3 separate regions of the Homo sapiens genome follow, and regions 1 and 2 are each linked to region 3. Evidence: promoter capture Hi-C in 16 types of primary human blood cells and fetal thymus (Javierre and others, 2016). All regions are on one chromosome and are shown on one strand. The core of a region is centred on a gene start or on the middle of the fragment in contact, and the rest is flanking DNA. Distances in the headings are between cores, read along the strand shown.

Region 1 (3,454 bases), core at 436-2,935, 520 kb before region 3:
TTCCTTAGTTCTCATAGGAAGTAGTAAATAGTGTTTTGTTGTTTTTATATGAAGGGATGGGAGTGTGGGACTAAGATTTCTTTTTTGTGAGTGGCTTATCAGATGCTACCTGTATTTGGCATTTTAACGTTTTGCCCTTTGTTTTCCAATTTGATTTTTAGATTGCTGGTTTTTGCAAAGTTTGTCTCAATAGTGAGAACATTTAACTCTGGCCACATTTCTTTTTCTTATCCCCCACAGAGAAAGCAGTCAAGGATGGAAAATTCTAATAGGTTAAAGCCTGCTTTTCTTTTTAAGACTCTTTTAGACTCAGGTCTGTCAGATTTTAGCAAGAGTTTCCCTTTCTTTTTTTTAGAAAAATATCTTAAGTAGGATCTCTTATTATTAGGCAATCTTTTCTTCTGTTGGGAAATGTAGATTTGGGAATGTCCGTAGGGGTATTATATGGATAGGGAGAATTAAGAGATGAGAAAGAAGGGAGAGGAGTAAGTATGTTATTGTGGAACAAGCAGCAGAGGGTGCAGAATTGGATTTTAGTTCTACTTTGCCATGTGCGAGTTACTTCTGCTGGCAAAGTTTTAGTTTCTTCTTAAACTATAAAATTAGGATAGTGAACTTCATAAAATCTCTGTGACAACTTTCAGCACTGTAATTTTGTGAATTTTTGGGGGAGGATCAGAATTACAAGTGGGAACCTGGCATTAATAAATAGTCATGATGAGTTTGATATAAGTCAACACAGGGAGCTGATTTTATCCACAAACAATGATATTTTCATGGGAAGAAAGAAAATGCTTTAAGATTGGGCAAAAGGAAGGTGTAAACTTCAGTATGGAAGGATGTCTAGTGCATTAAGTCTGGATGAGGAGTTGGCGGCTAATCAGTATTTTAATCAAGTACCTAGGACTTACTGAAAGTGCGTACTTGGAATACAGTGTCCTTTAAATGTACTGCATTTTAGATTTATCTTTTAAAGCTTTAGAGTATGTTGCCTGGCTCAGTACTTAAGTACTGTTGTCATCTCGTAATGGTACATATACTCTGAACTCTGAACTTCATTTAGTTGCCTAATGTTCTCTTTACTAGGTCAGTCCATTTGAGTTTGCGGTCACTTGTAGTTTTCTCCTTTATTTTCTATTCCTGATTTTCTTATTCAAATACTGTCATAAAACTTTTCTAAGGTTTGTGTCCTCCTTCTCATCTCAGATGGCCCTCGTTCTGCAGGCTGGCGGGAACACATGGAACGACGTCGGAGGTTTGAGTTTGATTTTCGAGATAGAGATGATGAACGGGGTTACCGAAGGGTTCGCTCTGGCAGTGGGAGCATAGATGATGACAGGGATAGCTTGCCCGAATGGTGCTTAGAGGATGCTGAAGAAGAAATGGGTACATTTGACTCATCTGGAGCATTCCTTTCTCTAAAAGTAAGAAACGTGTTTTAAATGTCATGACCAGCATTAACCTTATACCAAAGCCAAATCTGCTGTTGATCTTTGGTTTTATTCTCTTTCTACAGAAAGTACAGAAAGAGCCTATTCCAGAAGAGCAGGAGATGGACTTCCGGCCTGTGGACGAAGGGGAGGAGTGCTCTGACTCTGAGGGTAGCCATAATGAAGAGGCCAAAGAACCCGATAAGACAAATAAGAAAGAAGGAGAGAAAACAGATAGAGTAGGAGTTGGTAAGGCCTCTTCTTGCCCTTTGCCTTTTTTTTCCTCCATCAAACCAAAACTTTCGTAAGTTCAACTAAGATTACTTCGTGTTCCAGAAGCTAGTGAGGAAACTCCCCAGACCTCATCATCATCTGCTAGACCAGGTACTCCTTCAGACCATCAGTCTCAGGAAGCATCACAGTTTGAGAGGAAAGATGAACCAAAAACTGAGCAAACGGAAAAAGCTGAAGAGGAGACTCGGATGGAAAATAGTCTACCAGCCAAAGTGCCCAGCAGAGGGGATGGTATGTATTTGTGGGAATAGACAAGCTAAAATAGGATTCTGCTGAGGCCAGTGATCACTGATAAGTTAGGCTTCTGCTTATGCCTCCTAGAACTGCTTTTAGTGGGTGAATTATCGGAATAGATTATTTTACCAGTAAACCCAGTCAAACAGTGCTTCTCACGTATGTGTCCATCTCAGAATTACCAAAACAGAGTTCGAATCTGCAAGGGTGGAGCTCTGGAATCTCATGTCCTAAGGTGTTATGACATAGCCACCCTGTCATTACTGGTGAACTGGGTGTCATAGCCTTTGCATTAGTTTGATTCCCGTATTAGACAGTTACCTTCCTTTCATGTGTTGACTAATTATGTGCCCAGCTTAAATTACCAGATGACACACCAAAATGCCATTTTTCTAAAAGAGGACAAGTAGAGAACATATGTGAATCTGTGGCAGAATAAGCTTAAAACATATCTCTTTCAGTTGTTAGTGTATTGGTTTAAGTTGCTCATACACTTTATTAGGCAATATTAATGCTCATTTCCATGTTTCTTCTTGTACGTATTTAAAAATGTCATTGTAATGCCTGACGTTGAAGGGTTACTTGATTCATTTACCATAAAAATTGATACCCTTTAACATGGCATATGAGACACTGCACAATCTGGCATCTGCTTCCCTTTGTGCAGTTTCATTGCCAGCCTCTTTACTTCCCTCACGTTCTACTTACCAGCCTCAAAGCCTTTTAGGTCCTGAACTGTCTCCTGTTTTCTAGGATTCGTACCTTAGCACATCCTTTTCTCTGTTCTTGAAACTCTCTTCCACCCAAAGCCCCCAAACTAGGGTAGGTGTCTTCTTCGTTTCTTAAACAACCAGGCTTATTTCTAACATAGCATTATAATATCATAAAGATGTTTATTACCTTGTTTTCCCAGTAGACTAATATTTTGAGAGCTCAAACCCAGGAATTTTTCAATTTTTTAAATGTCTAGAACAAAGCTGATTATTTTTTTAAAGAGATGGGATTAACTGGGTGTGATGGCACGTGCTTGTAATCCCAGCTACTCGGGAAGCTGAAATGGGGGAGATCACTTGAGCCCAGGAGTTTGAGAACAGTGTGGACAACATAGCAATAGCAAGACCCCTGTCTCTAAAAACAAAACAACAACAAAAATGAGACAGGGCCTCACTATGTTGTTCAGGCTGGATCCGAACTCCTGGGCTCAAGTGATCCTCCTGCCCTTAGCTTCCTGGTTAGCTCAGCAAGTATTTGAATCTGTGCTCTACATAGCAGGCACTGTGAGACTGATATATCTTTGAGGCAGTTTGATTTGTAGTAGGATATGCCCCAGAACTACTTGTGGTACATTCTTTTGAATGTACGTGCTTGAAGCCTTATTCAGGAAATTCTTGGATCAAGTCTAGATATATATATTCTGAGAAGGCTTCATAGATGTACATTAAAGGTCGAAACTCCAGATTTATAGTGTGTAGAGGAGATAAAGTGTGCATATATCA
Region 2 (3,052 bases), core at 433-2,932, 580 kb before region 3:
GTCAGCTCACTGTAGCCTCTGCCTCCAGGGATCAAATGATTCTCATGCCTCAGCTTCCTGAGTAACTGGGATTATAGGCGTGCACCACCACACCCAGCTAATTTTTTGTATTTTTAGTAGAGACAGGGTTTCACTATATTGGCCAGGCTGGTCTTGAACTCCTGGCCTCAACTTGATTCACCTTCCTTGGCCTCCCAAAGTTCTGGGATTACAACATGAGCCACTGTGCCCGGCCCATCATACAGCTTTTAAAAACTGCAACTTAACTCTATATCTGTTTATTAGAAGTTTGTCCATGCAAATATATTGAGAGAATTGCCTGTCTCAGAATAAGGTATAGTGTATGATTCTTGCTTTATAATAGCAAATAGCTAATCCCCTTTCCCCACCACATATATGTGAACATGTTTGTCTGAATGTGAAGTATGGAGGGATACACACTAGGCTGTTAACATGTTTACCTCAGGAAATGGGAATAGCGGGGAGGCAAGAGTAATTATGAACTTGGAGGTTAATATGGGTCTATTTTAGTTACAGAGAATGTGGTGAGAATAGTACCTCAGGGGGAGAAAACTAGAGTCAGTGAATTTGAGTTTAGTGAAGGGTTTGGGCTAGAGATCTCTACCTCTGTGGTCTTTCTCTTTCTTCCTGTATCAGCCTGTACAGTGATTGCTGAGGCTTTGTTCCTGTTCTTTCTTGAGATTTCTGCTTTGGGGTAGCCTTATTCAATTTTTGATTGTAACTCTGTGGATTCACTTCCGTTAAATCTGTCTTTCTATTCTGACTACTCTTCAACTCTAGGTCTTTTGGATACTTCCTCAGTCAAGCACCTTGCACTTACTTTGTTCAAAACCATCCTCGTTATCTGTCTCCCCAAATTCGTTTTTCTGTTTTCTGCTTCCTTTTAAGCTTTATAATACACATTTGAAAAATACCCGCAACATTGAGTCCTATAGATTCCATTCCATTTCTGTATCCTGTGTTTTAGATTTTCCCTTCCAGAGGGAGCAGTGCTTTTACTACTTTGGGAACTATTTTATGGAGTAGGTGTTTGAATAGATCCTTGGTTTTGTATGAGCCATTCTAAGGGAGGGAGGTCAGGCTTCTGGGGGAAGGGTATGTCATAGCACAACTAAAGAGGAAGGAAAATGCAGTGGACGGTAGAAAGTTCTCATTTGGCTTTGAGTTGGGAGGTGAAACAATAGGAGATTGAGTTGGGGAGGGAGGCATGGGTTGTCAGATTGACGATACATAGTAGGTTCGATTGGACTTTTTTAGAGGAGTGTAGGCCATGATCAGAAAGGTGCCTTAGGAAAATTGATCTTGAGGCCCAGTCAGGGAAGCAAATAAGAACTTTTGTTAGAATAATCCAGACATGCATTAATAGAGTTTGGACTATAATGAAAGAGGAATCTTGAAGAAGTAGGCTAAATTTGAGACAAAATGAATGGATATAAGGGATGGAGTAGAGAGAGTTTCAGATGATCTAGGCTTTTGAGACTGGCTGACCAGTAAACTGAAAACAGTAGTGCCTTGATGATATGATCAGTCAGTGATCCCATGCCACATTGGTCATGGGAGAAAAAAATCAAATTTGTAATTAATTGCAGGGGTGGGATCATCTCTCCCAGCTAGTGGCCGGTTACAAATTTGTGGGCAGATGTTTTAATTGCTGTTGTTAAAATGACACCCCTACTCTCTGCATGCCCTCTTTGCCATTCCGTAATTTAGAGGGAAATAAAGATGGGCAAAGAAATACCAGGATAGTGCTGGTAATGGAGGAAAAGGGAGGTCATAGTTTCAACAAAAAACAGTCTACAGAGGCAGGATAGCATGATGGAGCAGAGTGTCCAGAGTCTGGTTCAAATCCTGAATTGCTTTATAAACTCAGAGACCTTTCCTTTTCCTTTTCCTTTTCCTTTTCTCTTTCCTTTTCCCTTTCCCTTCTCTTTTTCTTTTCATTTTCCTTACTGGGTCTGGCTCTGTTGCCCAGGCTGGAGGGCAGTGGTGTGAACAAGGCTCACTGCAGTCTCGACCTCCTGGGCTCAAGCAGTCCTCCCACCTCAGCCTCCCAAGTAGCTTGGACTGCAGGAGCATACCACCACGCGTGACTAACTTTTGTATTTTGTGTAGAGATGAGGTTTTTGTCATGTTGTCCAGACTGTTCTTGAACTTCTGAGCTCAAGTGATCTGCATGCCTCAGCTTCCCAAAGTGCTGAGATTACAGGTGTGAGGCACTGCATCCGGCCTCCAGAGCTGTTTTCTAAAGGTTACAAGTCTTCTAGGCGTTTGAGCTGAAAACATTTGGATAGCTGGGGTTTAAATGTTGCCCTAAGCTGCTTTGAATCATAAAGAAGAATGAGCAGAACACTGTTCTGAGTAATGCAGGTCTCTTTATTTGATAATTAAATAACTTGGTTTATTATTTTTAGGTTTTTTTTTTTAATTAACCTCTCAAGCTTTTATTTAAATGCCATGACCCAGGATGGATTTTAGATTTTGTTGAAAGCAGCCACATCCATGGACTGCACATAGTCTTCAAAAGCAGTGATCTGCTTCTCCAGCTTATCTGTTCCAACTTTATCATCTTCAACTTCACAACGTATTTGAAGTTTCTTAATTCTGTATCCCACTTGAACTAGTTTAGATGAGCCCCAGACTAAGCCATCTGCTTGAATGCCTCTGATGCACTCCTCTAATTTTGCCATATCTGTCTTATCATCCCAAGGTTTCACATCTATAAGATGGAAGACTTGGCAACGAGTGCAGGTTTTTTGGCTTTCTTCGATTCATATTGTGGAAGGTGTTCTTCCCTTAGCCTCTTCGTTTCTTCACTTTTCTCCTCCCATCAGCTCCAAAGAGATCAATGTCATCATCATCTTTACTATCTTTAGCTCCTCTTCCTATAGTGTCTTCCATATCCACAGGACCATACTTGACCAAAGCCTTCTTCACTCCTGGAAGGCTGGCCTTTTCTTTTTCGTAAGACTTGATGTGATTATACCAACGAAGGGCATAACACAAGTCAGCAGGCGGTGGGCCAGATGCTGCT
Region 3 (3,365 bases), core at 755-3,254:
CAGGAGTTCAAAGCTGCAGTGAGCTATGATTGCACCACTGCACTCCAGCCTGGGTGACAGAGCGAGACCCTGTCTCTAAAAGAAAAGAAAACAGGCTCAGTACTCTGGAGTGAAGTGGGCAAGGGAGAGGGTGGTGAGAAATAAAGTCAGAGGTAAAGGGGGGCCAGAGCATGCCGGACCTGGCAAGCATTGTCCAGACTTAAATGGGAAGCCATTGGAATGTTTGGGTGGATGCTGATACCCCAAACGTCAGAACAGGCTTTCTGCATATACTTGTTTCATTCCCAAGTCAGTCCCCCATGTAAGTGTGTTAGTGGTCGCAGAGTCCCCTCCATCCATTCCCTGAGTGTTCTTGGGAGCAGGCATTGTTCTGGGCACTGTGAAGACAAAAGTGAAGGAAACAAAATGGCCTAGGCCCTGCCCTCATGGAGCCTGGACTCCAGTGAGGGAAGAGAGACTGTAGAATAATTCCCAAGCAAGAGTGAAATGTGGCCAGGCACGGTAGCTCATGCCTATAATCCCAGCACTTCAGGAGGCCAGGAGTTTGACACCAACCTGGCCAACATGACGAAACCCCATCTCTATTAAAAATACAAAAATTAGCTGGGCATGCTGGTGCACAACTGTAATCCCAGCTACTCGGGAGGCTGAGACAGGAGAATCGCTTGCACCCAGGAGGTGGAGGCTGCAGTGAGCCGAGATCGCGCCACTGCACTCCAGCCCAGGCAACAGAGTGAGACTCTATCTCGAAAGCAAAAAAAAAAAAGAGTGAAATGCAAGCGTGCCTCCAATCTGGTCCTGGAGGTTGGGGATAGCTCCCCTGAGGAAGTGACTCCTGGTCAAAAATCTGAAAGGCCAAGAAGAGTCAACAAAGTGGAGAGAGGAGAGGCTTGTTCCAGGCAGAAATAATAGTGGGAAGGAGGAAGCGTGGCAGACGGCGTGGAAGGAAAGGCAGGCAGAGGTTCCAGAGGCTGCAAGCTTTTTGCCTGCATTCTAAGAGCAATGGGTGATTGTAAGCGAGGGATGACAGGGCTCAGAAGGTCTCTCTGCCTCTGTGTGGAAAAGGGCTTGGAGGGTAGAAATAAATGTGGTCGGCTGGGTGCGGTGACTCATTCCTGGAATCCCAGCACTTTGGGAGGCCGAGGCAGGTGGATCACCTGAGGTCAGGAGTTCGAGACCAGCCTGGCCAACATAGTAAAACCCTGTCTCTACTAAAAATACAAAATTAGCTCAGTGTGGTGGTAGGCGCCTGTAGTCCCAGCTACTCTGGAGGCTGAGGCAAGAGAATCACTTGAACCTGGGAGGCAGAAGTTTCAGCAAGCTGAGACTGCACCACTGCACTTCAGCCTGGGAGGCAGAAGTTTCAGCAAGCTGAGACTGCACCACTGCACTTCAGCCTGGGAGACAGAGCAAGACTCCATCTCAAAACAAAAAACAAAACAAAAAAAAGAAAAGAAATAGATGTAGTCAGACAGTGGGGAATCACTCCGGTCCTGAGAAGCAAAGGCGGTGCTGGGGATGGGAGGATGCAGACAGGTTCCAGAGACACTGAGGGGATCAACAGGACTCCTGAAGCCATCAATCAGTAGGACCGGGTGGAGGAGAGGGACAGATCCAGCTTGGCTTGCATAACACCAGGTTCATCTTGAGGTTGACATTTCTCCTTGACCTTTTTGTTTAGTCCCCACCCGCAAGGTCGCATTAGCTGCCTGCTGAGTTTAATCAAATCTCTTCCTGTCCTGGCAATGCCCGGGAATGAAGAGATAATCAGTCTATTTCCAGAATCCAAAGAGGTTTAGAAGAAAAAGTAGCTTTCATTTAGCTGTTGGCCCTCCCACCAACCTTCCCCAAGTCAGCTGGGTGACTCATACATCTGTGAGACCCTCCGTATGGAGACCGGGGCGGGGGGTGTTGCTTAATGCTTAGAACTGCTGAAACTACCAGTTCACTGTCTCAGCACTAATCCAACTCTGCTCCTTAAGTGGGATTTGGCTTTTAGACATTGAGACCTGGATGCTGGGCATCCTCGCTAGATCCCCTACAAATTCCCCACATACGTAGGCCAGGAGCCTCAGCGGTGCCCCTTCAGGCTCATCTGGCAAGACGGTACCAGCTTGCTCAGAACAGGGGCTGGCTATTCATCATCTCAGAGCATAGAGACCCTCTCCTTGCCACCCGGCCCTTCCCACCTGGTTGGTGACAAATCACAAGGTATGTGACCACCACAGGCCAAAACCTTATCAGAAACCTGGGGCAGGTGTGGGGAAGAGCAAGGATGGGCGTTTTCCTGCAGACAGTATGTCCCGCCTTCACCTTTTCTGTGTGGTTTCCATAAGACTTGGTTGCTATTTAAGGAGACTTGGAGTGAGCGGGTGCAATGGCTCATGCCTATAGTCCCAGTGACTCAGGAGGCTGAGGCTGGAGGATCACTTGAAGCCAGGAATTCGAGACCAACTTGAGCAATACAGTCAGACCCAGTCTCTACAAAAAAACAAAAATAAAAATAAATTAGCTAGGCATGGTGTCACACACCTGTAGTCCTGGCTACTCAGCTGGCTGAGGCAGGAGGATCACGAGCCCAGGAGTTCGAGGCTGCGGTGAGCTATGATTGTGGCACTGCCCTCCAGCCTGGGCAACAGAACGAGCTCCTATATCTTAAAAAAAAAAAAAACCTCAGAGTATGCTTAATTCTAGACCGCTAAGATGGCCTCTTAATTGTAAAACAGAGTGGCTATCTCTTAGTAGGAATTGCCAAATAGAACTTTTGGGATTTTAATATATTCTTTTTTTTTAAAAAAAGTGATAGGATCTTGCTATGTTGCCCAGGCCAGTCTCCAACTCCTGGTTTCAAATGATCCTCTCGCTTCAGCCTCCCAGAATGTTGAGATGACAGGTGTGAGCCACAGTGCCCGGCCATTAATATCTTCTTGAAAACAGTCTTTGCGAAGTGGTTATGTTGTGGTTTTCAGGAACTTTTCTGATTTATTCGCCATTAGACACAGTCACGATAGAACTTTAAATTCAACCTGGCTAAGTGTGATAACACCAAAGGTTAGTCAGAAAGTAAAACCTCATTGGAATCTAGCTAGACTCCCTGGCAAGGTGTACTGAGAAATGTTTGAAGCTTACCAAGAAAAATAAAATATTGAAAACACCCCAAAGCATGCTGCAGTAAAATACAAACTAAGCAAAGACTCACCGATGAAACTCGGATGTTGAAGCCGGTACAAGGGCATGGTGAGGACGCACAGGATCTCGTGAGTAGGTTTCATAACTAGGATGTTCTTGACTTGATATTTAGGATTGTCTTACCTTTCTCCAACCCTCTAACACCTGACCAACACCCCAAGGTGGTAGAAGTTGCC

What was found. The method cuts DNA at HindIII sites, captures the fragments that hold promoters and counts their contacts. A CHiCAGO score of 5 or more calls a contact.
Region 1: a fragment that was not itself captured here is called in contact with the fragment with the promoter of SAG in region 3 in 2 of 17 cell types (monocytes and total B cells); the score reaches 5.8 in monocytes.
Region 2: a fragment that was not itself captured here is called in contact with the fragment with the promoter of SAG in region 3 in 1 of 17 cell types (monocytes); the score reaches 5.3 in monocytes.

The regions. Positions count from the first base shown.
Region 1 is chr2:232,789,492-232,792,945 of GRCh38, forward strand. GIGYF2 (GRB10 interacting GYF protein 2) reads left to right here. Exons shown (of 29, transcript NM_001103146.3): 10 at 1,207-1,424; 11 at 1,517-1,679; 12 at 1,767-1,955. Among named protein-coding and RNA genes, the nearest start is that of KCNJ13, 15 kb to the left of the region's middle. The HindIII fragment of the contact is 1,422 bases long and covers 975-2,396 here.
Region 2 is chr2:232,727,031-232,730,082 of GRCh38, forward strand. All of the region lies in intron 2 of GIGYF2 (GRB10 interacting GYF protein 2), which reads left to right. It also overlaps the pseudogene EEF1B2P7. Among named protein-coding and RNA genes, the nearest start is that of GIGYF2, 31 kb to the left of the region's middle. The HindIII fragment of the contact is 1,550 bases long and covers 908-2,457 here.
Region 3 is chr2:233,305,812-233,309,176 of GRCh38, forward strand. SAG (S-antigen visual arrestin) reads left to right here and starts at 2,005. Exons shown (of 16, transcript NM_000541.5): 1 at 2,005-2,211; 2 at 3,351-3,365. The HindIII fragment of the contact is 2,146 bases long and covers 977-3,122 here.